Regions from separate parts of the Homo sapiens genome. Here region 2 is linked to region 1. Evidence: promoter capture Hi-C in human tissues and cell types (Jung and others, 2019). All regions are on one chromosome and are shown on one strand. The core of a region is centred on a gene start or on the middle of the fragment in contact, and the rest is flanking DNA. Distances in the headings are between cores, read along the strand shown. Region 1 holds the start of HMGN2 (high mobility group nucleosomal binding domain 2). Region 2 overlaps STMN1 (stathmin 1).

Evidence for each region. The method cuts DNA at HindIII sites, captures the fragments that hold promoters and counts their contacts. A contact is called where the count stands out against the background at its distance.
Region 2: a contact is called between a fragment that was not itself captured here and the fragment with the promoter of HMGN2 in region 1, in 1 of the 25 tissues and cell types used here (dorsolateral prefrontal cortex).

What each region holds. Positions count from the first base shown.
Region 1 is chr1:26,469,166-26,474,883 of GRCh38, forward strand. HMGN2 (high mobility group nucleosomal binding domain 2) reads left to right here and starts at 3,275. Exons shown (of 6, transcript NM_005517.4): 1 at 3,275-3,462; 2 at 4,318-4,362; 3 at 4,538-4,567; 4 at 4,920-4,970; 5 at 5,407-5,502. The coding sequence starts at 3,448. It overlaps DHDDS (dehydrodolichyl diphosphate synthase subunit), which reads left to right. Exons shown (of 9, transcript NM_205861.3): 9 at 1-2,141. RefSeq lists enhancers at 1,882-2,590, 2,591-3,300 and silencers at 2,670-3,085, 2,970-3,239, 3,500-3,789, 3,830-3,999. The HindIII fragment of the contact is 14,054 bases long and covers 1-5,718 here.
Region 2 is chr1:25,898,890-25,904,138 of GRCh38, forward strand. STMN1 (stathmin 1) reads right to left here. Exons shown (of 5, transcript NM_005563.4): 3 at 4,752-4,924; 4 at 2,602-2,793; 5 at 1,227-2,198. The coding sequence ends at 2,127. Among named protein-coding and RNA genes, the nearest start is that of STMN1, 4.9 kb to the right of the region's middle. The HindIII fragment of the contact is 6,597 bases long and covers 1-5,086 here.

The DNA.
Region 1 (5,718 bases), core at 2,025-4,524:
CTGCCTCCAGGGCTCCACTCCCCTTCCTTTTCTTGGTGAAAGGCACCTCCTTTCCTGATAATGAATGGTGTTCCCTTTGCTTGGCTGGGGAGCCCCCCAGGCCAGGTTTGCTGGCCATAGATACCTTTGGGCTGCCTGGGACAGGCTCCTGAGGAGGATTGAGGGTGAAAGTCTCCCACGAGTACACTAAACCTAGGTCTGGTCACCAATAGGGTTTGGAGAGCAAAGGGCCACAACTCATCAGCTGCCTGTCTCTTAGATGCACTTTCTTTTTCCACCAGCACATCCTTCAACACACAGAATTTCAGGGAAGAGTTCTCCCCAAAACCCTAGCTCTTTACCCTTCCATTTTAGCCTTCCACCCAGCTTCCACAAAAGATTTGGCTCTACCTTGGATCTGCTAGTAAATAACTAATAGGCAGGCAGTTATTTGGGTAAGGAAAAAAGGGGTGGGAGAGACAGAAAATTTGCCCATCTGCTGCTCCTCCCCCTTGGCTCTCCACCTGGGATTTGCTATTGAATCTCTACCCTCTCCCACCACACAGTACTGATTGCTCACTGAAAGACTCAGCACCCCCAATGGTGCGCGGAAGCCAGGCGGGCGATTACAATCCAATTACCTATTGTCGACTCAGCCCACACAAGCTTTTCTCCTCCTCTTGCAGGGCATGGGGCCAGGCTCCACTCCCAAATGAGACTGGCCCCCTCCATGGTTCAGGGTAACAGAAGGGCCTGTAGGCCCTGGTGAACTGAATCCAGCACAGGCCTCCCCTGTAACACAACAGGACTGAGCAGAACCAAACACTTCTTCCAACTGACTCTGCTCCCTGCCCTCACCATCTCAAACTCTGATTCCCACTCCACTCTTCGAGGTTTCTCTCAGCTTTTTGACCTGGCTCCCTAAGTAGGCCCTAGATGATTTATTCTTGGCATGGCAAAGCTTGTTCTAGGTCCTCTGCTTGTGAGGGTCAAAGCTGTGTCCTTTCCCTTACCTCCCTCTGCCAGGACTTGCTGCAGAGCTGCTGAGAGGATTAGTGCCTTTGAAGAGCTGTCTGCCTGAGCAACTCTATTTCAGGTGCCCCACACCGGCAAGTACCAGCCAGCAACACCAACCAAATGCTACTCTCTTTAAAGTCCATTTTCCTTCTTCTTTTTTTTTTTTTTTTTGGAGACAGCATCTCACCCTGTCCTGGCTGGTCTCGAACTCCTGACCTCAGGTGATCCGCCGGCCTCACCCTCCCAAAGTGCTGGGATTACAGGCATGAGCCACCATGCCAGACTTCCCATTTTACTTTCTGCAAGCTGTTTCCCTAGCAGCTCCCTCTAGGGGAGAGGTGAAATCTTGCAAGTTGTAGCAAGAGCACACAGGAAACCCCTAACTTTCCTATACCCCACCCGCCTCTTCCCCTTTCTGTCCCGGGATACCTGGCGGCAAGAGACTTCTTGGCTATTGTCCATGCTCCCAGAATCAAGCATAAATGCCAGACACGGCGATTGAGAAGCCAATCAGTGAACCCTTTGGCAAAGCCCCCATCCACACCTGGCACTCCCCTCTACCAATCCCTGGCACAGGGTTCCTGGAGAGCAGGTGCTGTACATTTTACAGCTTTACAATGGGGCTGTTGACAGCCATAATTAGGGAGGCATGAATTATGCGGCTATAATGCAGAGCCCTACAATTAAGGCGGGAATGAGGGGCTGGAGGCAGCAAACGGAATCTGCCCTATGAGCGTGGCTGTTGAGTCCTGTCTCCTGGGTCTGACTTTCCGTAATATGATTGGGGTACAGTAGAGGTGATTAATGGGGCTGGCATCTCTCTTTGGCCTGAGGTTCTGTATTCTGGGAAAGGTACACAGGGTGGAGTAGGGAGAAGCTGCCCCAGGAGGCGATGTAGTGGTGGAAAGAAGAGGCAGAGAGGTCGTCGTCGTCGCCCAGCAGCAAGGGCTGCAAAATAGTAGAACTCGTGGTTGCTTTGGACAGGTGTGATTTGTGCAAGCCAGGTTCAACCCTTGCCTCAAGAAATCAGATGGGACCAATTTAGTGTCCTTCCACCTGTGAGCCAAGCCCCCATTTGAGGACATCTATCGTATTCTTGTGTGCTGGGTCTCAAATAGAATTTTTAAAGATTCTTAGATGTAAAACTTGTTTGCTAACTGCAACGGAAGAACACCTTCTTTTGCTGCTGCAATTGCCTACCCTCCCTCAGGTGCACTTGGCTAGCTCCAAGACCCTGGCTTTGGACTAGGGGGCACCGGAAGAGCCCTTTTGCCATCACACCACCTGTTCCTCTACTTGTTTCCTAATCCCCGGGCGCTTTCCTCCACCCTCCTTTCCTCGCGCAAGTGAAAGGCAGCCAGCTTGACAGTGTGGAAGGAGGGATTTCGCCAGCTGCGGCTGCAGTGCCCAGGCTTGGTGGCCGCGTCGGGTTGGGCAGCTGGGCAAAATGTCTCCGAGAGGGGTAGAGTGTAGGGGGAAGTGAGTGCTGGTAGACCTCGACGGCCGCTCTCCACCATACTGTGGCGGGGTCTGGAGGTTTGGGAATACAGGGACCTTAAGGGAGCCACCCGAGAGGAGTTGGGGGTGGGGGCTTCGATAGCATTTGGGGAGGCGGCTGCGCAACGGGTGCTGAAAGGACAGCTCCTACCTGACCCACGGCACCCAAAAGGCACCTCTGCATGGAAAGTCTCCCCCTGAAACCCCTAGCCCACCTCGAGTGGGACCGTCTTTCAGGTGAGGTGCACGAAAGGCTTCTCCGAAGTGGCAGCTCGGAAGGATGCACGTCCGGCTGCGCCAAGCTGGTTTCCCCGCCTTTTTCCCACTTTGGCGTCAGCCTGGGCTCTGGGAACTGCAGCCTGTGCCTCCAGCCGCGCGCTTCCTCCTGCTTCCAGAGGAGCAGGGCAGTGCAGCCAGGCCTCGCAAACCCCTCTTCTGGGGCCCCCAGCGGGAGCAGGAAGGAAAGCCGCTGAGATGCGCCGTGAGTGTCGCACGGCTTGGAGAAGTGGGTTGCTGGGTTGCATAAGGTGGAAGGAACTTGCTAGTTTGCAAAAGACAGCTCTTGGCGGGAGCCGGAACCCGGAGCCCGCCGACTCGCGCACCCCTCCTCATTTACTGCCTTCGACGCGCGCCACCCCGACTGCGCCCCCACCCCCTCGGCGCGCCGCCGTCTCCGCGCACTACCCCCCCCACACACCCCCCTCCTCACTCCCTCCAGAGGAGGTGAGTTTAAACCCCGCCCACGTGACCCCAGCTGGGCCAATGAACGGCGGCGGGAGGTGAAATCCGGTTCTAACCGGTCCGGGGCTCCCAGCGCTATAAAAACTTTATAAACCCCCCGGAGCCCGAGCAGTGTGAAGAAGAGGCGAGAACGACCCCCGGACCGACCAAAGCCCGCGCGCCGCTGCATCCCGCGTCCAGCACCTACGTCCCGCTGCCGTCGCCGCCGCCACCATGCCCAAGAGAAAGGTACGTGGCGCGAGGGCCCCAGGCGCCGGGCCACCACTGCCGCCACCGCCGCCGCCGCCTCCCTGGTGCAGGGAGCGAGAATCGGCGCCGAGCAGGAGCCAGCGCAGCCTCCCCGCGCGGGGGCTGGAGACGGTGTCGGGCAGCTCGGGGCTAACCCTGAGCGGCTCGGCTGCCCGCGGGCGCCAGAGGCCATATTGGAGGAGCGGCGGCCGCGGCGGGAGGAGCCATGTTGGCGGCTGTTTATCCCGCTCTCCTCGGGCTCGCCGCCCCCGCCCCGTGCCCCCTCCCCCATCGCGAGGGCCCCTTCCCTCCCCTCCCTGCGGGCGGGCAATTCAAACCCGAAAGGGCGGGAAGGCGGCGCTCGGGGTTGGCGGGCGGGGGAAAGCGCTGCCGCCAAAAAACCGCCGCCGTGAGGGGCGGGGCTTGTGCGGTATGGCCCCGCCCCCTCGCCCACGTTCCCCGCGCACGAGACGCGCGCTGTCGCCGCCCACGAGTTCCCCGGGCTGCGCGCGCCTCCCTCTCCCGCCCTCGACGGCTGCCATAGCAACGGCGCTGGGCTCCGCCTCCGGAGGGGGTTTGTTTGCGCCATCTGCAGCTGTTGCTCCTGCCTGTCGCGGTGGTGCGGGCTCCGCTGCCCTCCCCGGCTGCGCTCCGGTCCAGCCCTCGCTTCTCGGGGTCGGCGAGCCGGAGCTCCTGCGCGCGCTTCGTTCTTATACGAACGTCGGGCTCACTCATTTATGTCCTAGAAAAGTTGTGTGGACGACTGCTTTAATTTTCATTTTTAGCACTCTAAAGTTTGGGAAGTAATTAAGAACCACCTCAAAATCTGCAGTTTTTTGTTCTTGTTTCTTATAGGCTGAAGGGGATGCTAAGGGAGATAAAGCAAAGGTGAAGGACGAAGTAAGTCATTCTCTCTTCAAGGGTCAAAGCCTTGGACTAGCAGAGGCCACTGGACTCGGTGATTAACCGTAACCTGTGTCCTGAATTTACACTCCTATAATCTAGAGCAAATTGATACCAAACTTTCAAAGCGACTTACCTGTCCTATTTCTAACTTTCTCGTTGTCTTTAATAGCCACAGAGAAGATCCGCGAGGTTGTCTGCTGTAAGTGTATGCTTTTGAATTTTCGTGCTTGTCCCTGAAACTAAAAAACATCAAAAAACAATTCCCTTTGCTTCCATGAATTATGGTTAGTGCCTGGTTTTGAATCATTGCCTCTACTTGGGACTCTTGCCCCTTTGGGTTTTGCTGGTTCTGAAATTCTGATGCCTGTAGCCAAAGTGGGACATTTGAGTGGGCTTCTGGAAATCCAACATTCTAGAAGAAAGCCAACCACAAAAACTTTTGAGGAGGAGGAGAAACTTCTCTACCCTTGGTACTTTTGGTTGGTTGTGGGTGGTTTTCTTCAGTCCATTGTACTGATGTTCACTTTTTCCTCTCTTCCTGCCAAAAAAAGAAACCTGCTCCTCCAAAGCCAGAGCCCAAGCCTAAAAAGGCCCCTGCAAAGGTAAGTGCTAACATTGGAACTGATCATTTTCACAGAATGAGGACTGTCCTTAGTGCCTTAACTTAATTAGCATAATGGTGCCTCCATTAATGGAGGTTATAAACTGTGTGGATAGCTTACCTCGTCCGTGTCATTCATAACGTTGGTTTCCTGATCAAGAATTCTGTTGTTAGTTTATAGGAAAATCTGCATTTAAATATTAAATACCCCAGGGTTTAAACTAATTTATTCTTCTGTTACTTAGGAAATTCTAAGTACTAAAGATTATAGCAAATTACAGATAATTTAGCCTAGTTTTGATCAGTTGTTCTTGTCAAATGGGTGAGGGTTTGTGTTTTATCTTGAGTAAACAATCCTACCTTGTGCAGAACTTTGCAGACCATACCTTGGTAATACGAAATGGGGAGAAACAGTTCTATTTTTTCCCCTTTTTCAGAAGGGAGAGAAGGTACCCAAAGGGAAAAAGGGAAAAGCTGATGCTGGCAAGGAGGGGAATAACCCTGCAGAAAATGGAGATGCCAAAACAGACCAGGTATAACTGCTGTTTCACCCTTTGTTAGATTTGTTCATTCAGTTAGTTGCTGATATCAAAAATTTAATTGCCCTTTTCTTGTATCACTCCAAATGTACCATTTGGTCCAGTGTGCTTGTGGCTTTCCTGTTAACTTAAATCCTGGATTCTTGAAATCTCTACTGTCAGCTGAAGGGCATTGTGTTTTATACTACATGAAGTTTTCAAGCTAGGAGT
Region 2 (5,249 bases), core at 538-3,037, 570 kb before region 1:
ACTCCAAGCCAGATGCAAAGAATGGGGGAGTGAAAGTTACTTAACTGATCTCCCCCAACCATCTCATTTTATCCAGGAGAAAATGGGGGCCCAGGACTAAGTGCTTCTCCAAAGGTCAAGGTGAAATAGAAAAGCCAGAGCTTCTATTTCTGTGGTAAGATGCATCCCCTTCAGTTTCCTGTGACTTAAGCCTGTCACAAGGCAGGGGCTCAGGATCGCCCTCTGATAGGAAGTCAGGGCCACCATGGGATGGGTGGTAACTGATGAGGCATCCTTTCAGGCCTGTTGATCCTTCCCTTGCTTTCTCCTGAGGCCAGTTTCCCTCCCTAAATGTCTTAGATGAACAAAAGCTCACTGCCACTTGTAGGACACCTCGTATCATTATGCCAAGTTTCTACCCTCAGGCCCTCTTTATATTCCCATCTATTCAGAACTGGTATTTTAAAGATCCCAGAGCACCTGCTATGTGCCAGAGACAGGAGCCAAGATGAACTGTGCTGCACCACTGCACACAAGCCTCATCCTGTCCTCTTGGTTTAGATATTGCTCAGAACCTATTGTTGTATTCAACTATACTTGCACTTGCTCCTATTTGCCCTACATGGGCGTAACTCCTTAAACCAAGCTTTGTTCAGAATTCCTCTGATTGATCATTTAAGTAAATTTAAAAGTCAATTTAAGGAATATAAAAACTGCATAATTTCCAACTCAAGAGTATAAACTTAGATCACTCATTAGCCTCTGGTTGAAAACAGTAATCGTGATTTATACGGAATGCTAAATATCTATGTTCTAAGTGTGCTCTCTTGCCACAAACCCATTTAATCCTAACAATCTTAGGAGGTAAGTTGAGGTAGGCTGTTATTGTTCTCATGAATAAGTTTGGTAAAACCCCAATCTCAAGATACAGCCCAAGCAGCAGAGGCACATGCGTTAGCAACACATGGACCCCACCGCAGTATTAGCAATCATCTTTTGCTATAAGTGCTTGGCTTCCAAGAGCTTTTATACAGATGTCTGAGAGGCACAAAATATGTATAATTAGGCTATTTCTCAAATAGCACAGGAAAGCTGCCAAAGGCGTTCCCTGAATTGAGAGGCAAAGCACTGACAATGGGGACTATTACAGCCTCTGGATACAAGATGACGTATCTGCCAACCTTAACCACCCGAGTCAAATGCTACTTTAGAAATAATTAAGGTTCCCTTTAGTCATTTCACAGGAGTTGCTACAGCAGTACATAAAGTTTTATTAATATTCTGATTCTCGTGTCATAGCTTTTATGGCAGGAAAGGATGAGGACATGCCCCACCTGTAACGTAGAGCAAGCAAACCACCAAGTAGAATCTTGAGATTCTCTCTCAACTGTTCTCTAGAAACACGCTTGTGCTTTTAATCTGCCTTTTAAAAGGGACACAGAACAAAAAATGGTTGTTTGCAAATAAACATCTGAAAGAAAGTAACAGCTGACCTGGGCTGAGGCATCCAAACAAAGCAGTCATTGTGGAAGGAGACAATGCAAACCACACTGGGGCAAGAAACGGGGCAGAGAACGTGCGGTCATTTGTGCGTTGGGTATTTCTACCAGCCCCAAAGGCCCCATCTGGAACAAGTATCAACCAGGAGGGGCTCTATGGCTTGATTTATTAACCTAACTCAAAAGAAGTCACTGCCACCAACAGCACTGTGCAGTTTTATTAACCATTCAAGTCCAGTAGCATCTGGTAAGATTGGGACAGAATTGGGATTGAAAAGTGAACAGATATTCAGCATCTAACAGTTCAAAAGAAGCCACTACATACTCTTTTCACAAATATGTTTTCACAGAGCCAATACAGTACTAGCCATTAACCCAGTACACCAAGTGTACTGAAGTAGAAAAGATGCAACAAGAAAAATAGCTACATTAGAAAGACCAACACTTTAGAAAAAGAGTAAAACACTTTCAGTTTCTCCCCTTTAGCCCCTAAAACAACATCTTACAGTCTGGATCTGGATCTACCTATACAGTCCTACATTAGCTTCTAAAATATTTGTCAGGAGGGAAAAAATAAAATGACACTGGCCAGTACAGTCTTTGGATATTTAGGAAGGGGATGGGGAGAAAGTCAGTTCTCAGAACAAATTAGTCAGCTTCAGTCTCGTCAGCAGGGTCTTTGGATTCTTTGTTCTTCCGCACTTCTTCAATGTGCTTATCCTGTAAAGGAAGGGTAAGGTGTCATCAGTCAAAAAAAAAAAAAAAAAAAAAAGCCTGTCAAGTCACGACCCCCAGCCCCCACCTCAAAGAGGCCCAACACAACCTCAGTGCATATATTACAGCCTGTGGGAACCACACAATTTAAGTTCTGAGACATCATCATCAAATCTCCTGGGTCCCTTGTAGAACCTAACAAGCTGCCTACTGGACTTCCAAGGACTGTGCAATTATGCTGGGAATTACTGAATATTCCATCTTAAAATATACCTTTCATTTAATATGTTAAGCCCCAAAATGGATGACAAAAAGACACCAAACACCTTTTATCAAAGCACTTAGTTCAAGCCAACTCATTGGTGCATCAAACTCCAAGCTCAACCCTTTTACAAAGTAAGAAACCAACCTTCTCTCGCAAACGTTCCAGTTTGGCAGCCATTTGTGCCTCTCGGTTCTCTTTATTAGCTTCCATTTTGTGGGTCAGTTTCTCTTCTGCCATTTTACTGAAGTTGTTGTTCTCTTCTATTGCCTTCTGAAGCACTTCTTTCTCGTGCTCTCGTTTCTCAGCCAGCTGCTTCAAGACCTCAGCTTCATGGGACTGGAAAAAAAAGTTTAATAGGCTAGGCACTCTAAAATGTATTCAGGCTGGGTGTGGTGGCTCACGCCTGTAATCCCAGCACTTTGGGAGGCCAAGGTGGGTGGATCATTTGAGGTCAGGAGTTCAAGACCAGCCTGGCCAACATGGTGAAATCCTACCTATACTAAAAATACAAAAATTAGCCGGGCGTGGTGGCGGGTGCCTGTAGTCTAAGTTACTTGGGAGGCTGAGGCAGAAGAATTGCTTGAACCCGGGAGGTGGAGGTTGCAGTGAACTGAGATCGTGCCACTGCACTCCACCCTGGGTGACAGAGACTCTGCCTCAAAAAATAAAATGTATTCAGCATAAGTTAAAATTACAATAAAAATAATTTACTAAGGGGATTGAAAAGGGGCAGAAAATAAGGTCCCTTTAAATAACACCAAAATTAGGACCTGAATTATCCCTATCATAAAATACTGTGAAAATGATATTCTTTTTCTAGTATTTGTATTTAACTTTGGAAAAGTGCTTATCTGTTCAGAAATCTTACCCAATTAGTCCTTAAGGAAATCCTTGTAAGATTTACTGCTTAATGGTATCTGGATGACTTGAGGAATATGTACTTGCGAGTGGCACTTTTATTGTAAAGAATTTCACTATTTAACTTCAAAAGCTACCCAAAGAAAACTAGCTCATTGTAAAAATTTTAACCATAACTGATAAAACAATGATAGGAAATTCAAGACTAAGTCTGTAGATTACTATTTAAGACAGAAAAATTTGTTTCAAGGAAAAGGCTTATTAGCTTTTGTCTCAGGAAACTGCATTAATTACCAGACCATACCTTGGTATGACCCCTTCAACAGAACAGCTTGTTCTCAAAACACATTGGAACCACTGACTTGCAGGATAACCACAGAGCATCTGACACTGGTTCTATTGATTCTCTTCTGCCAAATCCTAGTCATGATGGGAGTTTCATTATATTTAGCCAGTTACTATGTAAAGCACAGGCTAATGACTACAGGGCCAGGGTTGATGTCTAAAAAGCTTTCCACTGTCCAACCTTTGGTTGTATTGCTTCCTCCTACTCCATGAACTCACACTATTGCATAGAAGACGACTCCTTAGTGTAAGCACTGAGGCTCTTCGGGCGGGTGTGTGTGTATACTACAAATCACTATGCTGGTCTGGGGAAGGTTATTACCTTACCTTTTGTGCCTCACTTGCCCCAGCTTTAAAATCAATCCTATCAGGGTTGTTGAGAAAGGGAGTTAAATGAAAAGTTATGTACAGTTGTTAATGAGTAACATTGAATGGAAAGAAACACACCAAAATGTTAACACTGGTTGCTTCTCGGAAGCGGGATAATGAATACTTTTAATTTCCATTTATAAATTTCTGTATTTCCCAAATTTTCTACAACTAGCATATTAATATTTATTGATTCTTCTGATTAGCTTTTAAAGATAGTTACTTTATAATAGAATTGTTTAGATAAGAGAAAAGCTACCATGATACCAGCTGAGCAACACAATCACACTAGCAATTTAAAATGTTATTGTACAGCTCTCAAAAAACAAAACCAAAGTGCCAAAGAATCATCTGGCAACAAATCTTTTCAAAGAGGAAGCATGAGAGAAGCATGAGCTTTGGTTTAAGATAGACCAGGGCTTGAATTCTGACCCCAACACTTACTAGTTGTATGACTGCAGAAAAACGACTTAACATTCCTGAAACTGTTTCTAATTTCCATTATTTGAGGCAACACCATGTATTAAAGGAGAAAAATATAAACAAAGGAGCGGGCATGTAACAGGAGTTCAATAAATGAGGACTGGTATTTCCTTCCAGTCACTGGCATATGTAATAATCACAGTGTAGCTACAATTCTGTTTTCTTCCTGTTATAGAAATAAAATTGATCTGCCCATTACATAAATTAATATCCTGCTTTCTGTGAATTGCTTCGTTTACCTTGCGTCTTTCTTCTGCAGCTTCTAATTTCTTCTGAATTTCCTCCAGGGAAAGATCCTTCTTCTTTGGAGGGGAAAGGGGGAATTCTGGAACAGATTCTTTTGACCGAGGGCTGAGAATCAGCTCAAAAGCCTGGCCTGAGGCACGCTTCTCCAGTTCTTTCACCTGGATATCTAGAATTGATTATATTTATAATTCAGAAAACCAGGATTCTCCTGTTCTAATAAACTGTACTATAATTTTCTAAAACCCAAATCAATTTAATGTATTAAACTAGGGCTGATGAGGAAAGTTGTGTTTTTTTTCCCCTTTTTATTCCTATCAGTCTACTGACACTAGGGGAAGATGTATTTGCAGGCAAGATATTATTATCTAAATACCATTTCCCAAGGCCAGGTACCATGGCTCATGCCTATAATCCCAGCACCGTGGGAGGCCAACATGGGAAGATCCCTTGAGCCCTGAAGTTTGAGACCAGCCTGGGCAACAAAGGGAAAG